2 separate regions of the Homo sapiens genome follow, and region 2 is linked to region 1. Evidence: promoter capture Hi-C in human tissues and cell types (Jung and others, 2019). All regions are on one chromosome and are shown on one strand. The core of a region is centred on a gene start or on the middle of the fragment in contact, and the rest is flanking DNA. Distances in the headings are between cores, read along the strand shown.

Region 1 (7,775 bases), core at 2,761-5,260:
ATATGTGAAGAGTTTTTGGAGAGCCATATAATCATAAAGTATTACCCCACAGACTATGAATTACAAAGGGGAAAATACACACACACACACACACACACACACACACACACACATTGGTGGTGAGATCTGGCCATCCACCACCTTAACCAAATGATCAAGCTTATTATCAATAGTGGGTCAACCTTGGCTGGGCGCGGTGGCTCACGCTTGTAATCCCAACATTTTGACAGGCCGAGGTGGGCGGATCACCTGAGGTCAAGAGTTTGAGACCAGCCTGGCCAACATGGTGAAACCCCATCTATAGGCGTGGTGGCACATGCCTATAGTCCCAGCTACTCAGGAGGCTGAGGCATCAGAATCACTTGAACCCGGGAGGCAGAGGTTACAGTGAGCCGAGATTGCACCACTGCACTCTAGTCTGGATGATACAGTAAGACTCCATCTCAAAAAACAAAAACATAAACAAAAACATGAGCCTTGTAATGTGGTGCAGTTAAGTACATATCTACATAGGGCTCTTGTCAAAAATGTTTAAGATTCATTCCTCATGAATCTACTCATGAGGAAATGGCAAATACAAATTATGGAATCTTATCTAAGACAACTGGAGTAAATTATTCAACGAAATCAATGTCATGAAAGACAAAGGAATGCAGGAGGTCTGTTGTAAAAGAAGATACTTAAGAGAAACATAACACATGAACTTCTATTTGATCCTGGATCAAAAATGAAATTAAAAAGCTGTTAAGATTTTGGATATTGAGAAGTGAATACAGGCTGAGTATCCCTTATCCAAAATGTTTGGGACCAGACATGTTCCAGATTTCAGACTTTTTCAGATTTTGGCATCTTTGCATTATACTTATAGGTTAAGCATCCCAAATCCAAGAAATCCGAAATCTAAGCTCTTCCAATAAGCATTTCCTTTGAGCACCATGTTGGTACTCAAAAAGTTTCAAGTTTTGGAGCATTACAGATTTCAGGTTTTCATACTTGGGATGCTCAACTTGTATAAACTATATAAGATTAAGAAATTGTTAAATTTTGGCCAGGTCCAGTGGTTCACACCTGTAATCCCAGCACTTTGGGAGGCCGAGGCAGGTGGATCATCTGAGGTCAGGAGTTTGACCAGGCTGGCCAACATGGCGAAACCCCGTCTCTACTAAAAATACAAAAAAATTAGCCAGGCATGGTGGCAGGCACCTGTAATCCCAGCTACTCAGGAGGCTGAGGCAGGAAAATCACTTGAACCTAGGAGGCAGAGGTTACAGTGAGCTGAGATCACACCATTGCACTCCAGCCTGGGCTACAAGAACAAAACTCCGTCTCAAAAAAAAAAAAGAAAAGAAAGAAATTGTTAATTTTTTGTTGTTGTTTTTGAGACAGAGTCTTGCACTGTCGCCCAGGCTGGAGTGCAGTGGCGCAATCTCAGCTCACTGCAAGCTCCGCCTCCTGGGTTCACACTATTCTCCTGCCTCAGCCTCCCGAGTAGCTGGGACTACAGGCGCCCGCTACCACACCAGGCTGATTTTTGGTACTTTCAGTAGAGACGGGGTTTCACCGTGTTAGCCGGGATGGTCTCGATCTCCTGACTTCGTGATCTGCCCGCCTCGTCCTCCCAAAGTGCTGGGATTACAGGCGTGAGCCACCGCGCCTGGCCAGAAATTGTTAATTTTCTTAGTGTGATAAAGATATTGTGGTTACAGAGAACATCCTTATTAGGAGATGCATACATGGTTTAAGAGTTAAGAGTTGCAATGTCTGTGACTAGCTTTCAAATGGTTTAACAAAATCAATCTATATTGAGAAAGATAATTGTGACAAAATGTTAATTCCTGGTGAATTTTGGTAAAGGTTCTATGCATGGTCACCAAACATTTCTTTCAGCTTTTCTATGGGTTTGAAATTTTTACAAGTTAAAAGTAAAATAAATAATAGAGATCCTTTGACCATAATTTAAACTGAATTAGCATTGTCAGGATTAGAGCTCAAGAACCTTTATTTTTCACAAGGTCATCCAGATGATTCTAACACACATCTAGAGAATCGCTGGTCTTTGGTTTCTGCTACCTCCTGTAGTCAGAGAAAAGTGAGAGGAAGAAATGTTGTAATTCTCTCAGTAGAATTAGCTCAGCTGGTGGCCAAGAGTCTTTCCCTGATGGTTCCACAAGCCAATTATCTCAGACACGGTCCGAATGGCCTCGGAGTCTTAAGACTGGATTTCCTATGGAGGAATCAAAGTACTAATCCTCCTTTGGGGGCCTTGGCTGCTGTAAGAAACCAATACTTGACCCTCCCAGGAATAGAAGCTTCAGGGCACTGAAAGAGCTAAAAGGACTGGAGTGGAGGCAAGCCAAGGTGCTGTCTGAATGGTAAGAGGAAACCTACCAGGTGAAGGATCTAGTGTTTTGCCAAGAAATTCAATTTAATACCAAACAGGGGATTTACCTGGGCAGAACAGGCAATTTGTTAATATTTAGTGACTGTTACACACCTGAGTTGGATGTCATTACTAACAACCCCTGCCATAGGCTTATGCACTGCACCCCCTGCCCCCAAAAGCAGACAATTGGTTTAATGTCTATTCTAAGAAACCTGAGGAAAATGAAGCCAGACTGATTATGGGACAATTTAAATAAATACAAGAAACTGAAGAGCAGAAAAAGGTCTCCATACAGCTACTGTGAATTACTTTTATTGAAAAAAAATGTTCACTAAAAAGGCTGAATACATCCCTCTACATGAATACACAGCTCAGAAGAGGGGAAATGGAGGTGGGGAGGCATCCAAGTCATAAAGGGTAGAAAATGAATGCAAGCTTCTTAGAACTCTTCCCAGGAACACAGGCAATGCTTGCAGTTTCCTGGGTACCCAATGGGCAGGGAAGATCAGGAAGAGATCCATGGGACATAAGGAAGTTAGGTTACTGCGCATAGCTCCCAGGAGATTGTCCCCTCCATTTCTCCCACTCATTCTTTTGGCTGTGGGAGTGTTCCCTCTAAGCTGATCCACTACCAGCAGCTGGAACACTCCCCTAAAAAGCTAGCTTGGCTTCCTGGGCAGCCAGTTCTTCAGGAGCAAGGCTGTTAAGTTCTTGAAGCTGTCACTGCTGCAGGCCCCCCCTTAGCGCACAGAGGACAATCCTCACCAACACGCCACCAACCACTCCAATGGCAATTCCTATTCCCAAGGCTGACGCCACCTTCTTTTTCCACTTTGGGTGGTGAGGCTTGGAGTAGCTGTCCAGATTAACTTCCAATCCCTCATCTATTAACTTCTGATCCTCAGTAAGTGACTGATGGAAATTCAGATTCACCAAGTTAGGAGGAAGGACCCTCAACCCAAAATAGAGCCTCTTGACGAGTCTCAAGTTTTTTACCAGCTGCACATCACAGCGATATGTCCCAGAGTCATACTCCTGAGCATATTTAAACTTCACAAAGTGGGAGTTGGCTTGAAAGGGTTTGAAGACCTCATCGTCAGTGGAGATGACACCTCGAGCAAGTCTCCAGGTGAACCGGAAAGCTTCCTGTCCAAACTCCAAGATGTCTGAACTCAGACAGCTAAGCTCAAATTCCTTGCCAATGAGAATGGTGAAATGGAGCATCCCACAGATCCAGTTGGTCAGACATTCTAAGCGCCGAGTCTGACATTTCCTTCTCACTCCATCAGGGCCCACCTCACAGACGGTCTCCTCCTTATAGCCAAGGCCACAGGTGACAGTACAGGTTGTGGCATTGATGATAACTTTCCCCACAGCTTCTTGCAGCTTCTCAGGGATGGCCAGTGTTTTAGGTGTAGTCACCACCAAAGGCAGGTAGAAGGCCAACCCCAGGCTCCCAAGGACAAAACTAGTGGCTAAAACCTTCATGTCTCGGTAGGCGTTTTGCCACCCTCAGCCAGCACCCACAAGGTATTCCAGCTGAATCCTCTATAAATCATAACTTGATTCCTTTGACATGAGATATCCTTCAAAGTCAAAAGATATGATGCATGTATTGTCAATAAAACAACACAACTTAATAAATAAAAGTCCAGTCCTTATAAACAGGTGAGGCCACAAGGCAGGAAAAAAATCACAATGGTGTTGCTTTACTAACTATCGTTGTTAATAAAATAACCACCTTACCTACTAGTCTTCACGCTTTTTTTTTTTTTTTTTTTTTTTGAGGCAGGGCCTCACTGTCAACCCAGGCTGGAGTGCAGTAACATGATCACAGCTCACTGCAGCCTCAACCTCCTAGGCTCAAGTGATCCTGCCACCTCAGCCTCCTAGGTAGCTGGGACTACAGGTGCAGGCTATCACACCTGGCTAATTTTTCTATTTTTTGTAGATACGGGGTTTCACCATGTTGTCGAGGCTTGTCTCCAACTCCTGGGTTCAAGCAATTCACCCACCTCAGCCCCCCAAAGTGCTGGGATTACAGGCATGAGCCACCGCGCTGGCCGTTTTCGTGTTCTCTTAATGACTTTAAATCCACCTCTTGGGAAGACAAAGAAGAAAAGACTTCAGAAACTGAAGTAAATTTCCAGATTACCTCAAATGCATAGTGAAGTTACACTCTTCCTCACCCTTCCCCTTCCCCTCTATAAACTAGGATCTAAATTAAGGGTTTCAAAAGCCCCAGTTAAATGTCACCAAATAAAACAAATACTAAAGTCTAAAAAAAGGAAGATTAACTTGAATTATTTTAATGTTCCTAAACTTCCTATAAAAAGGATTAAGAACTCTGGACTAGGAGGCAAGTAACTTACCCTTCCTGAATTTCTGTTTCCTCCTTTGTAACTTAAGACCTCCTTGCCTATCTGAGGAAGGTCACTTAGAGCACTGAATGATATACTGTATGTGAGAACACTTTGTAAAGTGTGAAACACTGTTCAATGTGTAAGGAATTTTAAATAGAAATGGAAATTCATAAAGACAAGGGCCAAGATGACCTTTTCAAATCAGAATGTTTAAGGTTGTGTTAAAGGCAGCTCCTCTCCCCCTTTTAGGCACTCTTCCTTCCCAAGGATACTGAAGATATATTTTGAGTGAGAGGATGCATGATGCTCCCTGACTCTTGGCCTACTCCCTTTATCCTACAGAATAGAGCTCATTATTCACGTAGGTCAAGGTTGCTATGAAACAGCTATGATGTCAAAGATGGAGTTCTCAATCACATAAGATTAATAAGTAGACCCTCAAATTTGACATTAAAATCAAAGACTTACATAGACTTTGTGAAACATCTTATCTTTAGGAGACAACGAGCATTTAATAAATTTTAAAGCTGCTTCATTCAAAAAAAAAAAAAGGCTAATAAGAATTCAACCGTACTTACTTAGACTTGAAGAAAGGTCCTTGGAAGACAGGAACTTCCTAGCATGCATTTTTGTAACCTCCAGAATGCCTAGCCCTACGGCCTCTTCAGAGTAATTGCAAAACTATATTGAGTTAAATAATTGGAAGACAGATCATTCCTAGATGATCTTTTTGATCAACAACTTTTCCACTTGCATCATTTATTTACAATCTCATCTAGAGGCAGAAATCTAGACTACCTGTCCACTCCCTACCCCTTCCAGATCTATCTTTCCACACTGAAAGATCTAGTATCAACACAGGAAATCACACTTTCCTTTGTACTAAAGCAAAGTGGCCAGAGAGTTCCAGAAGTGAGCAGTGTTTACAAATAAACATCTACACCTGTTCTTTAATAAACATCCGATTTTATTTACAAAGCATTAAAGCTTCAGCAAGAAGTACCCAAGGCTAAGTCTCATCTTGTACAAAACTACAGATTTTTTTTTTTTTTTTTTTTTGAGATGGAGTCTTGCTCTGTCACCCAGGCTGGAGTGCAGTGGCGCAATCTCAGCTCACTGCAACCTCTGCCTCCTGGATTCAAGCAATTCTCCTGCCTCAGCCTCCCGAGTAGCTAGGATTACAGGTGCCCGCCACCACGCCCAGCTAATTTTTGTATTTTTAGTAGAGACGGGGTTTCACCATGTTGACCAGGCTGGTCTCAAACACCTGACCTCAGATGATCCACCAGCCTCGGCCTCCCCAAGTGCTGGGATTACAGGTGTGAGCCACCATGCCCAGCCCAGAATATTTTTAAAAACAAAATTTTGGGGGTGGCAGGGCAGGGATGACAAAAAGGAAGAAGAGAATATACATATATTGTACAAATCAAATAATTCAAATTGAAATGGATAGAAGGTTTTTTAAAAGTTGAAAAAAAAATTCCAAAAACATAAATAATTATTAGGAGCTACTGCCAGAGACAATCTGACAGGGCTGAAGATGATTTTCTCAGTAGCCAGTTTAGGAGGTGGACATAGCACAAACATCCAAATGCACAGGCAGAGGAAACCAAGCTACTTCACACGTGGAAAGATGGCAGAAACCCTCTAAGTCCCATAGTTTGCACACTGCTGCAGTGTACAGTGCAGAGGACTGGAATGGATATAATGTCTGCAAAACAAAAACATGTCTAGTGAGCCATCTACTAATCTCAACCACTGGTCTAACTCATGACAGTCTCAAAATGAATATTTAAGAAAAAAGTAGTGGCATCTAAAAATATAGACGTTTTGCAACTGACTCAGGGAGAGCTCTTTCTTCAACTACTGAATATACTGGTTTTAAATGATGGAGTGAGACAAAGAGGCTCTTGCTGACGTGCTCTACTTTGATTTCTATCCTAAAATCTAACAGGTAATCAATGTGTTTGGCTACCTATAGGAGCATCCACCAACTGATATCATTTTTTTTTTTTTTTTGAGATAGAGTCTCATTCTGTCACCTAGGCTGGAGGGCAGTGGTGCGATCTCCACTCACTGCAACCTCTGCCTCCCACGTTCAAGTGATTCTCCTGACTCAGCCTCCAGTGTAGCTGGGATTACAGGCATGTACTACCACGCCCAGCTAATTTTTGTCTTTTAATAGATACAGGCTTTCACCACGTTGGCCAGGCTGGTCTTGAACTCCTGACCTCGGGTGATCAACCCGCCTTGGCCTCCCAAAGTGCTGGGATTACAGGCGTGACCCACCACGCCCGGCTCACCAACTGATATATTTCACAGTAAGCACAGTATTTAAATTCTCCTTTTAAAATATTGAAAAAAAAAAAAAAAAAAAAAAGACGATCCAGATTAAGCACTTCCAGTCAGCTAAAAACGCCACTCAGAGAAGCTACTGAGCCCTTTTCACACCTGGTTTCCTAATGGGATTTTCAGAGAATTTCAAACACCAAATGTACACATCTATCCAATCTGTTATTTTTATAAAGAACAACAAATGTCAAAAAAAAAGCTAAGCAACCTTTCACAGAAAGGAAGTGACTGAAAACACAGTAAGAAAAAGGAGCACAGGTATAGGCAGGGAAAAATGCAATGACTGATGAGGATAGATTTCCACAGGCAGTGATACAAAAAATTCACCTTGATCTTTGATTTGAACTATGTGGTTGCTGCTTTGATTCTGGATGGTTTTACTTTACTCCTTGCATAGATTCCCCCACCCCAGTAAAAAAGTAGCTTGTTGAGAGACACCTGGGTTTGTTTCCATCTCTGGAAGCCAGCACAGGTAAAGCAATATAAACTATTGATGATTCTTTGCTGGAGATGGATAAAACTAGCTATCTTCAAAAACCATGATTGATGACAATGAACCAATATTGGAGGGAAACATGCAATGAGAGGAAAACAAGGGAAAACCCTGAATTGTTACAGCCCAGCTTCTTGAGCAAAACGTGGTATGAGAGGAAGAGAGGGCCTTCGTTGTTCCCTTT
Region 2 (7,775 bases), core at 2,366-4,865, 120 kb after region 1:
AACAAGAGAAAAGGAAAGCTCTTCTTTACAGTAGACTACAACTAATACATATAGAAGGAATGATGGATATAAAAATCACCATTGGGCTGCACACGGTCACTCATGCCTGTAGTCCTAGCACTTTGGGAGGCTGAGGCAGGAGGATCGCTTGAGCCTAGAAGTTCAAAACCAACCTGGGCAACATAGTGAGACTCCATCTCTACAAAAAATTTAAAAATTAGCTAGGCACGGTGGCATGTGCCTGTAGTCCCAGATACTAGGGAGGCTGAGGCAGGATTTCTTGAGCCCAGGAGATTAAGGCTGCAGTGAGCTATGATCACACTACTGCGCTCCATCCAGCCTGGGTAACAGAGCAAGACCTTGCCTGTAAAAAGAAAACAACAACAAAAAAACCCCATCACTGAGACAGGTGGGAGTTGTCAGGGAATGCTAGGTCTACTGGAAGGAGGTTTTTTGAGAAACAGGGTATCAGTGAAATACAAGAACACCTCTCCACAAACTAATCAATTGCAAAGGAAAAAAATGGTGAATTCACAAACTAATCAACTGCAAAGCAAAAAATGGTGAATTTTTTTTTTTTTTTTTTTTTTTGAGATGGAGTTTCGTTCTTGTTGCCCAAGCTGGAGTACAATGGCATGATCTCAGCTCACTGCAGCCTTCCGGGTTCGAGCAATTCTCCTGCCTCAGCCTCCCAAGTAGCAGGGATTACAAGCATGCACCACCATGCCTGGCTAATTTTTTTTTTTGTATTTTTAGTAGAGATGGGGTTTCACCATAGTGGCCAGGCTGGTCTTGAACTCCTGATTTCAGGTGATCCACCCGCCATGGCCTCCCAAAGTGCTGGGATTACAGGCATGAGCCACTGCGCCTGGCCCTAAAACTGGTGAATTTAAGGTGGAGAAAACATCTCCAGGGATGGGTTAACGTCATATACCCTGTGATGAAAGGAAAAAAAAAAAAAGGAGACATTGTTGGGACAGTTGGCAAAACCTGAACAGGGTCTGTGGACTGGATGGTAGTACTGAACCCATGTTAATTTCTTGATTTGGCGAGCTGTATGGTGATCATAGAAGCACATCCTTGTTTGGGAGGAATGCATACTGGAGTGTTTAGAGGAGATGAGAAAACCTAACTGCACTCAGCTCTCAAAAGGTTCAGAAAAAGGCTACATCTAATATAGATCAGGAAGGAGAGAGACTGGGTGATGGAACAAATCCATGAAAATGTTAACAACTAGAAAATTTGCATGAAGCAGGTATTGGAACTCTTTTATTGTTCTCGCAACACTTACGTATGTTTGAAATTATTTCAAAATAATTTTTTTAGGATCCAAATATATACCTAGCAAAGCGTATCCAGCTCTTGATCTCAGAGGAAAGAGATCAAGAGATAGGATTTTACTTGACAAGAAAAACCAGCCGGAAAAAAAAAAAATACATCAAATACAGCAATAACAGGATTTGAACAACAACAGTTTCTTCACTGTCTCCACTTTTGCCCTGCACATTACCTTCCATCCCATCAATCTTCCTGTGATGTTTACTATTGCTTGTTCAGAGTCTGGGGAGTTCAAGGCACTGATCTAAGCAAGTAGTTTAGGATCAGACTTAGAATCCAAATCCACAAGTCTAAGCAGTATAGACCAACATGATGCTCCAGTATAGAACAGTCTGATGAAAGTTACCTGTAACCATCAGGTTCATTAAATAAGAAACCACGAAGGCCGGGCGTGATGGCTCATGCCTGTAATCCCAGCACTTTGGGAGGCTGAGGCGGGCGGATCACCTGAGGTCGGGAGTTTGAGACCAGCCTGACCATCATGGAGAAACCCCGTCTCTATTAAAAATACAGAATTAGCTGGGCGTGGTGGCACATGCCTGTAATCCCAGCTACTCGGTAGGCTGAGGCAGAAGAATCGCTTGAACCCGGGAGGTGGAGGCTGCGGTGAGCCAAGATCACGCCATTGTACTCCAGCCTGGGCAACAAGAGTGAAACTCCGTCTCAAAAAAAAAAGAAAGAAAGAAAGAAAGAAACCAACAGAGGAAGCTTGACTTTGATTTTGCACTGCCTGTAGTGGCCCCTTATGTTTATTAGTGGTAGAGACTATATTGCCATTATACACTAACTACTTTTATCCTATACCAACAAACCACTTTTCCAAGTTAAAGCAGCAAAACTTTTCCAATTCTCTCCATGGGACAGAACCAGAAGAGCATGTCAGTTGTTCAATCAGGAGAAAGTGAAAGAGGTTTCCTCAGTGGGGTTCTTATATACTAAAAAATAAGAATGACTTTTCTTTACTAGCTATATTCCCCCACATTCCTCCTTGCACCTAGATATCGCCATAATATTAAACGCTAAGGCTAGAGTATATCATATGGAATATTCCTAAAACGTAAACTCCATACTGGTTCATTCTCACTGTCCCTCTCATTTGAATAGAAAGAGCTTTTATTTAAAATAGTCTTGTAACCTAGCTGCATTTGTGATAGGGCCTTAGTCTTTGCTCTGGCAAGTTTGACTTGATTTAAAAAAAACAAAAACAAAAAAACCCTGGGAAATTCTCTCCCCATTAAATAGACTAGAAAATATTAAAAAAAAGATCTAAACTGAAATTTGTCTGGCATAAATAAGGCACTAAAGCTTTTTTTTTTTTTTTTGAGATGGAGCCTCGCTCTGTCGCCAGGCTGGAGTGTGGTGGCGCGATCTCGACTCACTTCAATCTCTGCCTCCCAGGTTCAGGCGATTCTTCTGCCTCAGCCTCCCAGGCACTAAAGCTCTTAATCTGATGAAACTAAAGTTAGACACTTTGAGGATGAAAGTACTTTTTTAAAATAAGTGGAATTTTTTTAAAAAATCAAAGGCTTTTATAAATATATAACCTAGACATAATTATTTGGGACAATTCTGATGTATCATTAGTTAGACAAGTGAAAAGCAAAACAATCCTCAAGTCCTACTCCCATCATCCTGCCCAGAGCACACCACCTCAGGGAATGGAAGCATGTTATAATAAAGCCCAACTCCAAAGAAAGCGGTGGTCAAAAGGTTCCCACAGCCACGTGGCACACAGCTGGGGAATATATCCAAACTGCTCACACTGCCTAGAGAAGAAAATAGAAAAACACACTGCCTGTGATGGGCACTTCAACCAGAACCCACAGGGGATACTGATGAGTCTCCATGCTCTGACCAACTTTCCCTCCAAGAGTTTTGGTTTGGACTTTGGAGGAACATTACGCATAAGGGAACTTTCTCAGAGAGTCTCATTTATAGCTCAAAGCAAGGAGACACACATCTTAAGCATTTCTACATCTGTTCTCCTCTGGTCATGTAAGTGTCAAGTTCCAGGTTCCATAGGATCACCAAACTCCCTGTGTGACAAAGAACTGAATCAACCTCCAAGCCTGGGAATGGCCTATACTGAGACTGGACATCCTCCCACGGCACTCCAGTCAGAGCTCTGTGAGGTAAAATAGAAAAACTGCACCCCCACGTGGACTCGCCCTCTGTAGTCTTGTTATGAATGACACTACTCAGATTCCCTGCACCATGTAGGAAGCAAACCCCGTCATCCCTAGAGGCTATTTTCCTGTAAGAAGGAGCAAATTAACCTTAGGTTTTACAACCATAACCAAAAAAACCACATCCACCCATAGCTCGTAGTTTTCCTACCGGCTTCTCTGTAACTTCTAAGAAAGACAGAAATGAAAGAAGCTCTAATAGTAATCTTCATAAATGCATTCTGCATTTGAACCACAAAAACGAGATGATATAATTTTTCCATCAAAGAGAAAATAGGCTGATTTTCCTCTACTGTCAGAAAGTGGGCAGAACATTTCAACTCTTATTCTTTTTTTTAATGAGACAGAGTCTCGCTCTGTCACCTTGGCTGGAGTGCAGTGGTGCAATCTCGGCTGGTTGCAAACTTCGCCTCCTGGGTTCAAGAGATCCTCCTGCCTCACCCTCCCAAGTAGCTGGGATTACAGGCGCCTACCACCGCGACCAGATGATTTTTTGTATTTTTAGTAGGGACAAGGTTTCACCATGTTGGCCAGGCTAGTCTTGAACTACTAACCTCAGGTGATCCACCTACCTTGGCCTCCCAAAGTGCTGGGATTATAGGCATGAGCTACCACACCCAGCCAATTTTTTGTATTTTTAATCGAGATGGGGTTTCGCCATGTTGGCCAGGTTGGTCTTGAACTCCTCACCGCAGGTGATCTGCCCACTTCGGCCTCCCAAAGTGCTGGGATTACAGGTGTGAGCCACTGCGTCCGGCCTCAACTCCTATCCTTATCAATGCCATTTAATCTTACAATTTTCCATATGCCCTACACTCCTACCCACTCAAAGACAACTAATGATTAAGTAGGTAACCAATTTGTAGAAAATCCTCTGGGAGAGACATGATGAAACACTAATCCTTTTTTCCTTCATAACATCAATTTGGAATTAATAATCTCAGTTAGTTGGACAGAGTGGTTCACCAATGCGTGTCCTGTGCCTAGTACAGAGTCAGGCATTAAATAAAGGTTTGCTGAGTGAATGAATATTAAGAATTTACTTCCCATATCATGGTGAAGCTCAGGTCTACTGGTATTGCATGCAAGTCATTCTTTGGAACATGAAAATAATTCTTTGGGATACTGGCACAGAATGCAACTGCACCTACTACTTGATAGCACAACAGGGTGACTATAGTCAATAATAATTTAATTTTTTTTTTTTTGAGACAGAGTTTCACTCTTGTTGCCCAGGCTGGAGTGCAATGGTGCAATCTTGGCTCACTGCAACCTCCGCCTCCCAGGTTCAAGCTGTTCTCCTGCCTCAGCCTCCTGAGTAGCTGGGATTACAGGCACGTGCCACCATACCCGGCTAGTTTTGTATTTTCAGTAGAGATGGGGTTTCGCTATGTTGGTCAGGCTGCTCTCGAACTCCTGACCTCATGTTATCCACCCGCCTTGGCCTCCCAAAGTGCTGGGATTACAGGCATGAGCCACCATGATGGCCCAGTTGTATATTTTTAAATAACTTAAGGAAAGTAATTAGATTGTTTGTAACTTAAAGGATAAATGTTTAAGGGGATGGCTACCCCATTCTCCATGATGTGTTTATTTCACATTGCATGCCTGTATCAAAACATCTCAGGTATCCCATAAATATATAAACCTACTATGTACACACAAAATTAAAAACAAAATTTTTTTAATGCAAAAAAAAAAAAAAAAAAAGAATGCAACTGCAGCCTAACTAGTCACCTATGAAATGCATATCATTGTTCTTTTTTAGGGGCCCAGAGAGTAAAATGTGTGTGAATTTACAAAAATCCTTATGTTCTATGGGGCCAAAAAAAACGCCCTTCCAAGGAAGGAATTAAATTGCATTTAATTTCAAAACATCATTCCAATATCCACCAGCTGTGGAAATAATTTAACAGATATTTATTTGCCCATTATGTACAAAGCACTATGGTAGGCACTACTGGGGGTACAAAATGAGTAAAACATACTCTTTACCCTTAGGGGTACACAATCTTGTCAGCAGGCTAAGACAAACATACTCACAGCTATCATACAAAAGAAAAGGCTGGGCGCAGTGGTTCACACCGGTAATGCCAGCACTTTGGGAAGCCAAGACGGGAGGATCACCTGAGGTCAGGAATTCGAGACCAGCCTGACCAACATGGTGAAACCCTGTCTCTACTAAAAATACAAAATTAGCCGGTCGTGGTGGTGCATGCCTGTGATCCCAGCTACTCAGGAAGGCTGAGGCAGGAGAATTGCTTGAACTTGGGAGGCAGAGGTTGCAGTGAGCCAAGATTGCACCACTGCACTCCAGCCTGGGCATCAGGAAAGGAAATGTGGGAAACTCGGGAAGGGGAGAGGGGAAAGGGAGAAGGGGAAGGGAGAGGGGGAAGGGAGAAGGGGAAGGGAAGGGAAGGGGAAGGGGAAGGGGAAGGGGCTTCTTCCCCTACGTGGCCTGAGGTAATCCGTGAAAATGGTTCGCTATTCACTTGACCCAGAGAACCCCACAAAATCATGCAAATCAAGAGGTTCAAATCTTCGTGTTCACTTTAAGAATACTCATGACACTTCTCAGGCCATCAAGGGTATGCATATACGAAAAGCCACGAAGTATCTGAAAGCTACCACTTTACAGAAACAGCATGTACCATTCCAACATTACAATGGTTGCGTTGGTTGGTGTGCCCAGGCCAAGCAGTGGGGCTGGACAAGGTCAGTGGCCCAAAAAGCTTGCTGAATTTTTGCTACACATGCTTAAAAATGCAGAGAGTAATGCTGAACTTAAGGGTTTAGATGTAGATTCTCTGGTCGTTGGGCATATCAAAGTGAACAAAGCACCTAAGATGCGCCGCTGGACCTGCAGAGCTCATGGTCGGATTAACCCATACGTGAGCTCTCTCTGCCACATTGAGATGATCCTTACTGAAAAGGAACAGATTGTTCCTAAACCAGAAGAGGAGGGTGCCCAGAAGAAAAAGTTATCCCAGAAGAAACTGAAGAAACAAAAACTTATGACACAGGAGTAAATTCAGCTTTAAAGTAAATACAATTAAATATTTTTTTAAAAAAAGGAAAGAAAAGAAAGTAAATAAAGGCATAATCTGTATGAGCAGAGCCTATATTAACTGAGTAACAGGTATAAGGTAAAATTCATATTCCCCTTTATTTCTGTAACTTTTTTTTAGGTTTTATTCTGAAAGGATTGTTTTTGAGAAGTGCATTTATTGGAGAAAGATTCCCTGTTCTCTTAACCTAGTAAAACAGAGAACAGAAGCATGGAGAAAGAAAAGGAGAAAGTAGACAGAGCAAAACAAAATATAAAAACCAGACTGGATTTTTATTTAAATCCATGCCTTCTGTAAAAACTACTTGCAAGGCTGAAGAACTAACCATACTGAAATCAGTAATGACTTTTAAGACTAAACATATTGCAAATTATAATAAGCTTAAAGGCAATAATATTTTCTCTTTTAAAAGCAGGCAGGATGGGCATGGGAGCTCACGCCTGTAATCCCAGCACCTTGGGAGGCCAAGGTGGCCAGATCACTTGAGGCCAGGAGTTCAACATCAGCCTGGCCAAAACGGTGAAACCCCGTCTCTACCAAAAAAAAAAAATAGCCAGGTGTGGTTCGCGCGTGCCTGCAGTCCCAGCTACTTGGGAGGCTGAGGTAGGAGAATCATTTTTATCTAGGAGGCAGAGGTTGCAGTGAGCCAAGATCCAGCCTGGGCAACAAGAGTGAGACTGTCTCAAAAAATAAAATAAGAAAAGGAGAGGGGAGGGGAGGGGTAGGGTAGGGAAGGGGAGGGGAGGGGAGGGGTACGGTAGGGAAGGGGAGGGGAGGGGAGGGGAGGGGAGGGGAGGGGAGGGGAAGGGAGGGGGCAGAATTTCCCAATGTTTTTTAATAGCAAGCTGACCAGCTGGGCAAGGTGGCTCATGCCTGTAATCCCAGTGCTTTGGGAGGCCGAGGCAGGTGGATCACCTGAGGTCAGGAGTTCCAGACCAGCCTGACCAATATGGTGAAACCTTGACTCTACTAAAAATACAAAAATTATCTGGGCATGGTGGTGTGTGCCTGTAGCCCCAGCTACTTGGGAGGTTGAGACAGGAGAAATGCTTGAACCGGGAGGCAGAGGTTGCAGTGAGCTAAGATCATGCCACTGCACTCCAGCCTGGGCAACAGAGCGAGACTCTGTCTCAAAACAACAACAACAAAAACAGCAGGCAGACCTGTACCATGGGAAACAGAT

The links. The method cuts DNA at HindIII sites, captures the fragments that hold promoters and counts their contacts. A contact is called where the count stands out against the background at its distance.
Region 2: a fragment that was not itself captured here is called in contact with the fragment with the promoter of TMEM81 in region 1 in 2 of the 25 tissues and cell types used here (dorsolateral prefrontal cortex and mesenchymal stem cells).

The regions. Positions count from the first base shown.
Region 1 is chr1:205,080,450-205,088,224 of GRCh38, forward strand. It overlaps TMEM81 (transmembrane protein 81), which reads right to left and starts at 4,011. Exons shown (of 1, transcript NM_203376.2): 1 at 2,680-4,011. The coding sequence starts at 3,871. The coding sequence ends at 3,104. It overlaps RBBP5 (RB binding protein 5, histone lysine methyltransferase complex subunit), which reads right to left. Exons shown (of 14, transcript NM_005057.4): 14 at 5,693-7,775. The HindIII fragment of the contact is 3,641 bases long and covers 3,172-6,812 here.
Region 2 is chr1:205,196,191-205,203,965 of GRCh38, forward strand. All of the region lies in intron 1 of DSTYK (dual serine/threonine and tyrosine protein kinase), which reads right to left. It also overlaps the pseudogene RPL17P8. Among named protein-coding and RNA genes, the nearest start is that of DSTYK, 12 kb to the right of the region's middle. The HindIII fragment of the contact is 5,997 bases long and covers 618-6,614 here.